Regions from separate parts of the Homo sapiens genome. Here region 2 is linked to region 1. The links are contacts of gene promoters, found by promoter capture Hi-C in human tissues and cell types (Jung and others, 2019). All regions are on one chromosome and are shown on one strand. The core of a region is centred on a gene start or on the middle of the fragment in contact, and the rest is flanking DNA. Distances in the headings are between cores, read along the strand shown.

What was found. The method cuts DNA at HindIII sites, captures the fragments that hold promoters and counts their contacts. A contact is called where the count stands out against the background at its distance.
Region 2: a fragment that was not itself captured here is called in contact with the fragment with the promoter of BHLHA15 in region 1 in 1 of the 25 tissues and cell types used here (mesendoderm cells).

The regions. Positions count from the first base shown.
Region 1 is chr7:98,209,540-98,213,213 of GRCh38, forward strand. BHLHA15 (basic helix-loop-helix family member a15) reads left to right here and starts at 1,900. Exons shown (of 2, transcript NM_177455.4): 1 at 1,900-1,959; 2 at 2,717-3,674. The coding sequence starts at 2,771. The coding sequence ends at 3,340. It overlaps LMTK2 (lemur tyrosine kinase 2), which reads left to right. Exons shown (of 14, transcript NM_014916.4): 14 at 1-99. RefSeq lists a silencer at 1,772-1,961. The HindIII fragment of the contact is 24,836 bases long and covers 1-3,674 here.
Region 2 is chr7:97,858,616-97,862,097 of GRCh38, forward strand. ASNS (asparagine synthetase (glutamine-hydrolyzing)) reads right to left here. Exons shown (of 13, transcript NM_001673.5): 5 at 598-783; 6 at 239-340. It overlaps CZ1P-ASNS (CZ1P-ASNS readthrough), which reads right to left. Exons shown (of 19, transcript NR_147989.1): 11 at 598-783; 12 at 239-340. Among named protein-coding and RNA genes, the nearest start is that of ASNS, 12 kb to the right of the region's middle. The HindIII fragment of the contact is 7,001 bases long and covers 1-3,482 here.

The sequences.
Region 1 (3,674 bases), core at 650-3,149:
TTACTGTATATTGATGCATAGTGTGATTCAATAAATTGCTTGTAATTTAAAAACTATTTAATATTCAAAATAAATATAGTTATATATTTATAAACTCTGTTGGCCGCGTTTCTTCTGTGTTTTGTCCACCGTGCAAGGGCCACCTGGGTGGGTGGCCTGGCCCTGCCCTGCTGTGAGCGCCCGCAGCCTGTGTTCCAGGCCCCTGCCCTGGTCCCTCTGGAGCTTGTGTGACAGACCTAAACTCCCCGCACTCCTGAGGACATAAAGCTTTGTATAACCACTGGAAAACCAAACCTGTTTAGTGTTCCTGCCACCTTGAAGCATGTCTATAAACCATGCCTTTGCACTCATGAATTTCGGAAGCATTTTCATTTCCAAGGACCTCATTTGGCCCAGCCTCAAATGAGCTTTAGGCCAAGAGAAGAACTAACTAACCTTGGCTCCAAGCTAGCCTTTCTGTGCCCGCCCCCCGCCCCACTATGGCCCCTCTGAGTTCCCACCCAGAGGTACTGAGACAGAGCGGCGAGACCCATGAGTGTGGAGCCCAGGCCTGCCAGCCAGCGTGACACTCACCGCACCCCCAGCAGCGTGCAGTCACCGCACCCCTAGCAGCCCCGAATAGTCCCTGAGCAAGATGCTGCTTTGGCTGGGCGTGGTGGCTCACGCATGTAATCCCAGCACTTTGGGATGCCGAGGCGGGTGGATCACTTGAGGTCAGGAGTTGAAGACCAGCCTGGCCAACGTGGAGAAACCCCGTCTCTACTAAAAATACAAAAATTAGCTGGGCGTGGTGGTGCATGCCTGTAATCCCAGCTACTCGGGAGGCTGAGGCAGGAGAATCGCTTGAACCCGGGAGGCGGAGGTTGCGGTGAGCCGAGATCATCTCGCTCCATTGCACGCCAGCCTGGGCAGCAAGAGCGAAACTCCGTCTCAAAAACAAACAAACAAACAAAACAGGCGTTCCCAAGGACTGCACACCTGCCCAAGGAGCCCCCCACCCCCACCCCAACTCGGGCTCCGCCCCCAGCCCGTAGGAGCCCCAGGTTCCCCTAAACATCCCGGGCGGCGGGGCGGGGGATCCCCTGGGAGATGCCCGCGTTTTCGCGGAGCGGCTCGTCCCGGAGTGCTCCTGGGACTTGGGATCTGTGTGCTGAGCCTGAATCGGGGCTGCCCCTCCTTCCGGCGGCTCCCAGAGACCTGTTTCCCATTGGCGGAATGGGCCCGGGCCCCGCCACGAGTGGAGAGGCCGGGCAAGGAGGATCGCGGGAGGCATGGATGCGGGGGTGCTGTGTCAGGGGGAGGGTCGGGGAAAGCGGGCGGGGGGAGGCTGTCTCGGGCACGGATATGGGGTAGGCGGGTGGGAAAGGCGCGAGTGGAAATTGAGGGGGAGGATGGGGAAAAGCAGGTTGTGGGGAGGCTGTCGGGGGACGGGAGTAGGGGAGGTGGGGACGCAGGCTGTCTTGGGGGGGCTGTAGCGGGAGAATGGGGAGAGACGAATGGGGGGAAGCTATCTCGGGGCGGTTGGGGGGCTGTCGGGGGAGGATGGGGAGAAGCGTGTGGGGGAGGCTGTCTGGGGGAACGAGGGTCGGGGGCTGTCGGGGGATGGTGGGGAGAGGCGGGCGGGGGTGGCTGTCTTGGGGGACGAGGGTGGGGGGCAGTAGGGGGAGGATGGGGAGAGGCGGGCGGGGGAGGTTTTCTATCTTGGGGGCGGGGCGGAAGCTGGGGGCGGGGCTGCGCGGCCACCTGGTCCGGGAGCCCCAGGCGCCGGCCTCCCGCCCGCCCGCCCGCAGGTGCCGCCACTGCTGCCCAGCGCCCGCCGGGACACCCGGACCCCGGCCCCGCCCCGGCCCCGCCCCGAGGGCTCATTTGCATGCGTCCGCGGCCCCTCCCGGGGCGGCTAAAGCGACGTGTCCTTGTCCCCCGTGGGCAGCCTCGGCGCGTGTGGCCGCGGATCCCCAGGTAACCCGGGAGCTGGGAACTCGGGTGGGGCCGCGGGGAGGGGACCCAGGGGCAGGACCTGGCGGTGGGGTTGTGGGGGTTGTGGGGGCTGTGGGGAAACCCGGGTGGGGGACTTCTGGTCTGTCTGGAGGCTCCACGGGGCCCATCCACGTGGTGGGATTGGGGGCTGCCGCCAGGCCCTGGCCATTGCCGACCTCTGACCTCCACGGCTGCCCCATGTCCGCAGCGGTTCTGGCCCCAGTGCTGTCCCATGTCCGCAGCGGTTCTGGCCCCAGTGCTGTCCCTGCACGTGTCACGTCCAGCGGGGCAGGACAGTGAGAGCCTGGTGGCTGGAGTCACTGCCCGCCCACGGGATGAAGTCAGTGCCGCCTCCGGCAGAGGCGCCCCCTAAGCTAGGGTGGGGGACGCATTCTAGGCAAAGTGTCAAAGGTCACCGAGCTCAGGAGGCACTCTGGGGGCAGTGAGGGGCATGAGCCAGAGGAAGATCTAGGGGTCAGGATGAGTCATCCTGGGGGAAGGGGGACGCAGGGACAGGGACAGATTCCAGAGGTCTGTTTGAGGTAAAGCAAGGGCGTGGGTGTGTGTGGGGTCAGCCCAGGGCTAAGCGTGTGAACAGAAGGACCTCCAGTCGCAGAGCGCCAACCCCTGCCCCTGGTACCATTGCTGTCAGCAAGGAGGAGGCTGCCAGGGACGGCACCCCAGCGGGTCCCCTGCCCATGTGGGGTGACCACAGAGTGTCCTGTGTTCTGGATTTCAGCTCCAAGGGCCTCACCTTCCTGCCGCCACCTCCTAGGACAGCCAGTCCAGGGCCATGAAGACCAAGAACCGGCCCCCACGGCGCCGGGCCCCGGTGCAGGACACAGAGGCCACCCCCGGGGAGGGGACGCCCGACGGGTCCCTGCCGAACCCGGGGCCAGAGCCGGCCAAGGGTCTGCGGAGCCGGCCGGCCCGGGCCGCAGCAAGGGCTCCGGGCGAGGGCAGGCGCAGGCGGCCAGGACCCTCCGGGCCCGGTGGCCGTCGTGACAGCAGCATCCAGCGGCGGCTGGAGAGCAACGAGAGGGAGCGGCAGCGGATGCACAAGCTAAATAACGCCTTCCAGGCCCTGCGTGAAGTCATCCCCCACGTGCGCGCGGACAAGAAGCTCTCCAAGATCGAGACGCTCACGCTGGCCAAGAACTACATCAAATCGCTGACGGCCACCATCCTGACCATGTCCAGCAGCCGCCTCCCAGGCCTGGAGGGGCCGGGCCCCAAGCTCTACCAGCACTACCAGCAGCAGCAGCAGGTGGCTGGGGGTGCGTTGGGGGCCACGGAGGCCCAGCCCCAGGGCCACCTGCAGAGGTACTCCACGCAGATCCACAGCTTCCGAGAGGGCACCTAGCGCCCAGTCCTGGGTGGGGGTGGCGGTGGCCGCAGCTGCCTGGCCTGCTCCTCCCAGCCCCAGTCCCTCCAAGCCACGAGCCCCAGATGGGCGGTGACACCCCACAAGGACACGGCCTCAGCGGTTCCATTTTCCCCCGAACATTCAGCCACTTCCCTGGAGCAATTTTTCCTGCCCCGCTGGGGACCAGCGAGTGGCCTAGTTGCGGCTGTGGCCCTGGACAGCGGCGTGAGGCCCAAACCTCTAGGTAGGGCCCAGTTGGATCCTGATTTTTCATTGAGCCAGGCAGTCTCAGCCCGAGTTGAAAGGCCTCCTTAGCCTTGGAACTAACGTC
Region 2 (3,482 bases), core at 414-2,913, 350 kb before region 1:
ATTCTAAAGAACATTCACTGACTCACTCTTAACACCAATAACATAGCTATAGTGTAACTCAAGTTGGAGTATGACTATGACTATTAAATACAGCTTATAAAAAATCATTTCCATCCTATAATGAAGGAAAGAGTAAATCATACAGTAAATATTTTATAGTAAAAACCAAAGGGATGGCTACAAATCATTTCAATTAAACACACATGAAATATAATTAGGTTTTTTTAATTGACTTCACCTGATAAAAGGCAGCCAATCCTTCTGTCTGTCATCAAACGTTTCTTTACAGCATTATTAAAAAGGATCCTGAGGTTGTTCTTCACAGTTTCTATCTCAAAACCTATAAACACAGCAGTAAATCAAACAGCTCCAGAAAATCTTGGGCTGGATTAGTTATTGAAATGAAATACACAATCATCAACATCTATCATGATGGTATTTACTCAATGGTGGAGTGTGCCAAATCTTAATGTGTTCCCTCCAAACAAAATAGGAAGTAGGTCTTGAAACTAAAATCATTCAAATGATGGGAGAATACAACTTAAAATTTTTTTCCCTTGGAGAAGGATGGGGAATAGGTGGGTGGGTGTCTGCTACCTGGAAAGAGTTTCTCCACATTGTCATAGAGGGCGTGCAGGGGTACATCCCGACAGTGATGATATTTAACCATTTCCACGGATGCAACTTTGCCATTTGGCTTTAAATCCAAAACTTCATAGTGTCCAGGAAGAAAAGGCTCCACTTTTAAAAAGGGAGTCGCGGAGTGCTTCAATGTAACAAGACCTAGAAATTCACAATGATACCTTTATTCAAATTAGGTAACCCTTCCCAATAACTTTCACGATTAGTTAACATCATCTACATTCCTATTTTCCCTTTTTAATACAAACACATACCCATTAAATAAGCAAAATAGGAAAAAAAATTTTCTATTTTCCTAAGCCCTACCATCTACTTACCTGAGAGACAATAATGGCACAGGGATATACTGCCAAATTACACTAACTTTTCGTAATTCAAAGAAATAGAAAAATCTCCAGTGTTCAATTTCTTCTTCTTAGATTTCTAATCAAGAAAACCTATTTTCTATACTAAAGCAAATACACAAAAGGAAAAGACACACTTATGAAGCAAAGGGATGAACTGGAGTCCTAATGTTATGATAGGCTGGGAGTCATTTATTTGTCATCACTGAGGTATTTTCAGAACACAGCCATGGTTCCCAGACCTTTAACAAGTACAATGATCCACTTTTACCTACTTTAAAGTCAGATAAGAAGACATCTATCCCTTAACTAGTTGTTATACACTATATGTGAATAAAACCATATAACTTAAATTTCCTCAATAAATTCTCACAGACAGTACAGTACCCAACCTCTCATCACCATGATCTTTGATACAAACATCAATGTTTTATTGTAGATCGTAATGGACTATCTACATGGAATACTCGTGATTTACAATTTGAGATTGTCTACCCAGCCAGTAACCTGTGTAGCACTGAATTCAAATACCAGAAAAAGGACCCAGATTCCCTCACCAGCCAGCAGAGCTCAAGTGAGCTACACAACCCGGATAGGGAATGGGGAGTAATTAAAAGGTTTTAAGCAGGCAATACTATAATCAGATGAGATTTTGACAGGTTATTCTAAAAGCACTGAGAAAAGAAAATTGTTGCAGTATTCCAGATGAGATAATTTGGTCTGGAAAAGGACAGTGTCAAGGATATAGAAAAGAACAATTAAGGAATTTCAGAGGGTAAGTTCCATATCAAGTGATCATCAGGCTCAAAGAAGGCCCAGGGGAGCAGGAGGCTGCTTTTCCCCAGTGTTCTCTTTACCAGGCTTTCCCAGCAGTCCTGGCAACTGACATATATATATGCTTGTTCTTTGCCATCTGATCACACTAGAAATGCCTGAAAATAAGCCAGTTCCAGTATTAGTACAAACACTGTGACTAGTGTCCTAAGGACCCCTTTGATTGATCTCATTATCCCTGCTTCAGCCAATATTAAATCTGAAAATTAAGTGAGAAAGAATTTAAAGAATGGCAAAAAGAGGCAGGGAGAGAGATATTAGGATGTTACTGCTGCACAGGTAAGGGATAAAAGATAAATGTCTTCCTCAAGTTTACCATCAAAAAGTGCTATGCATGATTTGCAAGTATTTTCTTCCAACTTGTGGGCCGTCTTTTCACTTTCTTGATGGTGTCCTTTGATGTGCAAAAATGTTTAATTTTGATGAAGTCCAATTCATTGATTTTTATTATTGTTGCTGGTCTCATATTTAAGAAAGCTTTGCCAAATCCAGGGTCATGACAATTTACTTCTATGTTTGCTTCTCGGGATTTTATAGTTTTAGCCCTTACATTTAAGTGGATTAGTTCAAAACTGATTCATTTGATCCTTTTTTTTTTTTTTTTTGAGATGAGTCTCGCTCTGTCACTCAGGCTGGAGTGCAGTTGCGCGATCTCGGCTTACCGCAAGCTCCGTCTCCCGGGTTCACGCCATTCTCCTGCCTCAGCCTCCTGAGTAGCTGGGACTACAGGCGCCCGCCACCACGCCCGGCTAATTTTTAGTAGAGACGGGGTTTCACTGTGTTAGCCAGGATGGTCTCGATCTCCTGACCTCGTGATCCACCCGCCTCGGCCTCCCAAAGTGCTGGGATTACAGGCATAAGCCATCGCGCCTGGCCTGATCCATTTTTCTGTATCCATAATTTTTGTATACGATGTTGGGTAAAGATTCAACTCCAAGTTTTGCATATGGTTACATATCTGGTTGCCCCTGTGCCAGTTTTCAAACTTCTTTCTCCACTGAATAATCTTGGCACCCTTGTCAAAAATAAGTTGATCATATATGTATGGGTTCATTTCTGACTCTCAATTCTATCCCACTAGTCTATACATCTATCCTTCTGTCAGTATTATATTGTCCTTATTACCATTGTCTTGTAGTAAGTTTTAAAATCAGTTAATATGAGGTCTCCTACTTTGTTCTTCATTTTCAAAAGATTGTTTTGGCTATTCTTAGTCTCTTGCAATTCCATATGAATTTGAGAGTCAGCTTGTAGATTTCACAAAGAACTCATCTGGGATTCTGATAGGGATCAAGTTAAATCTGTAAATCAGTTTAGGGAGGACTGCCATCTTAACAATGTTAAGCCTTCAAATCATGATCATGGGATACTTTTCCATTTATTTAGATCTCCTCTCATTTCTTTCAACAACATTTTATAGTTTTCAGAGTACAAGTTTTACACTTCTTAAATTTATTTCTAAGTATTTTATTCTTTTTGATGCTATTATAAATGAAGTTGCTTTCTTAATTTCATTTTGATTGCTCATTTTAAGTATGTAGTATTCAGTTAAAGTGTGTCAAATACCATTGATTTTTGTATATTCATCTTGTATCCTGCAACCCTGATGAACAGAAGGGATTTGTATCTAGAATACATAAGGAACTATTACAATTCAGTAAT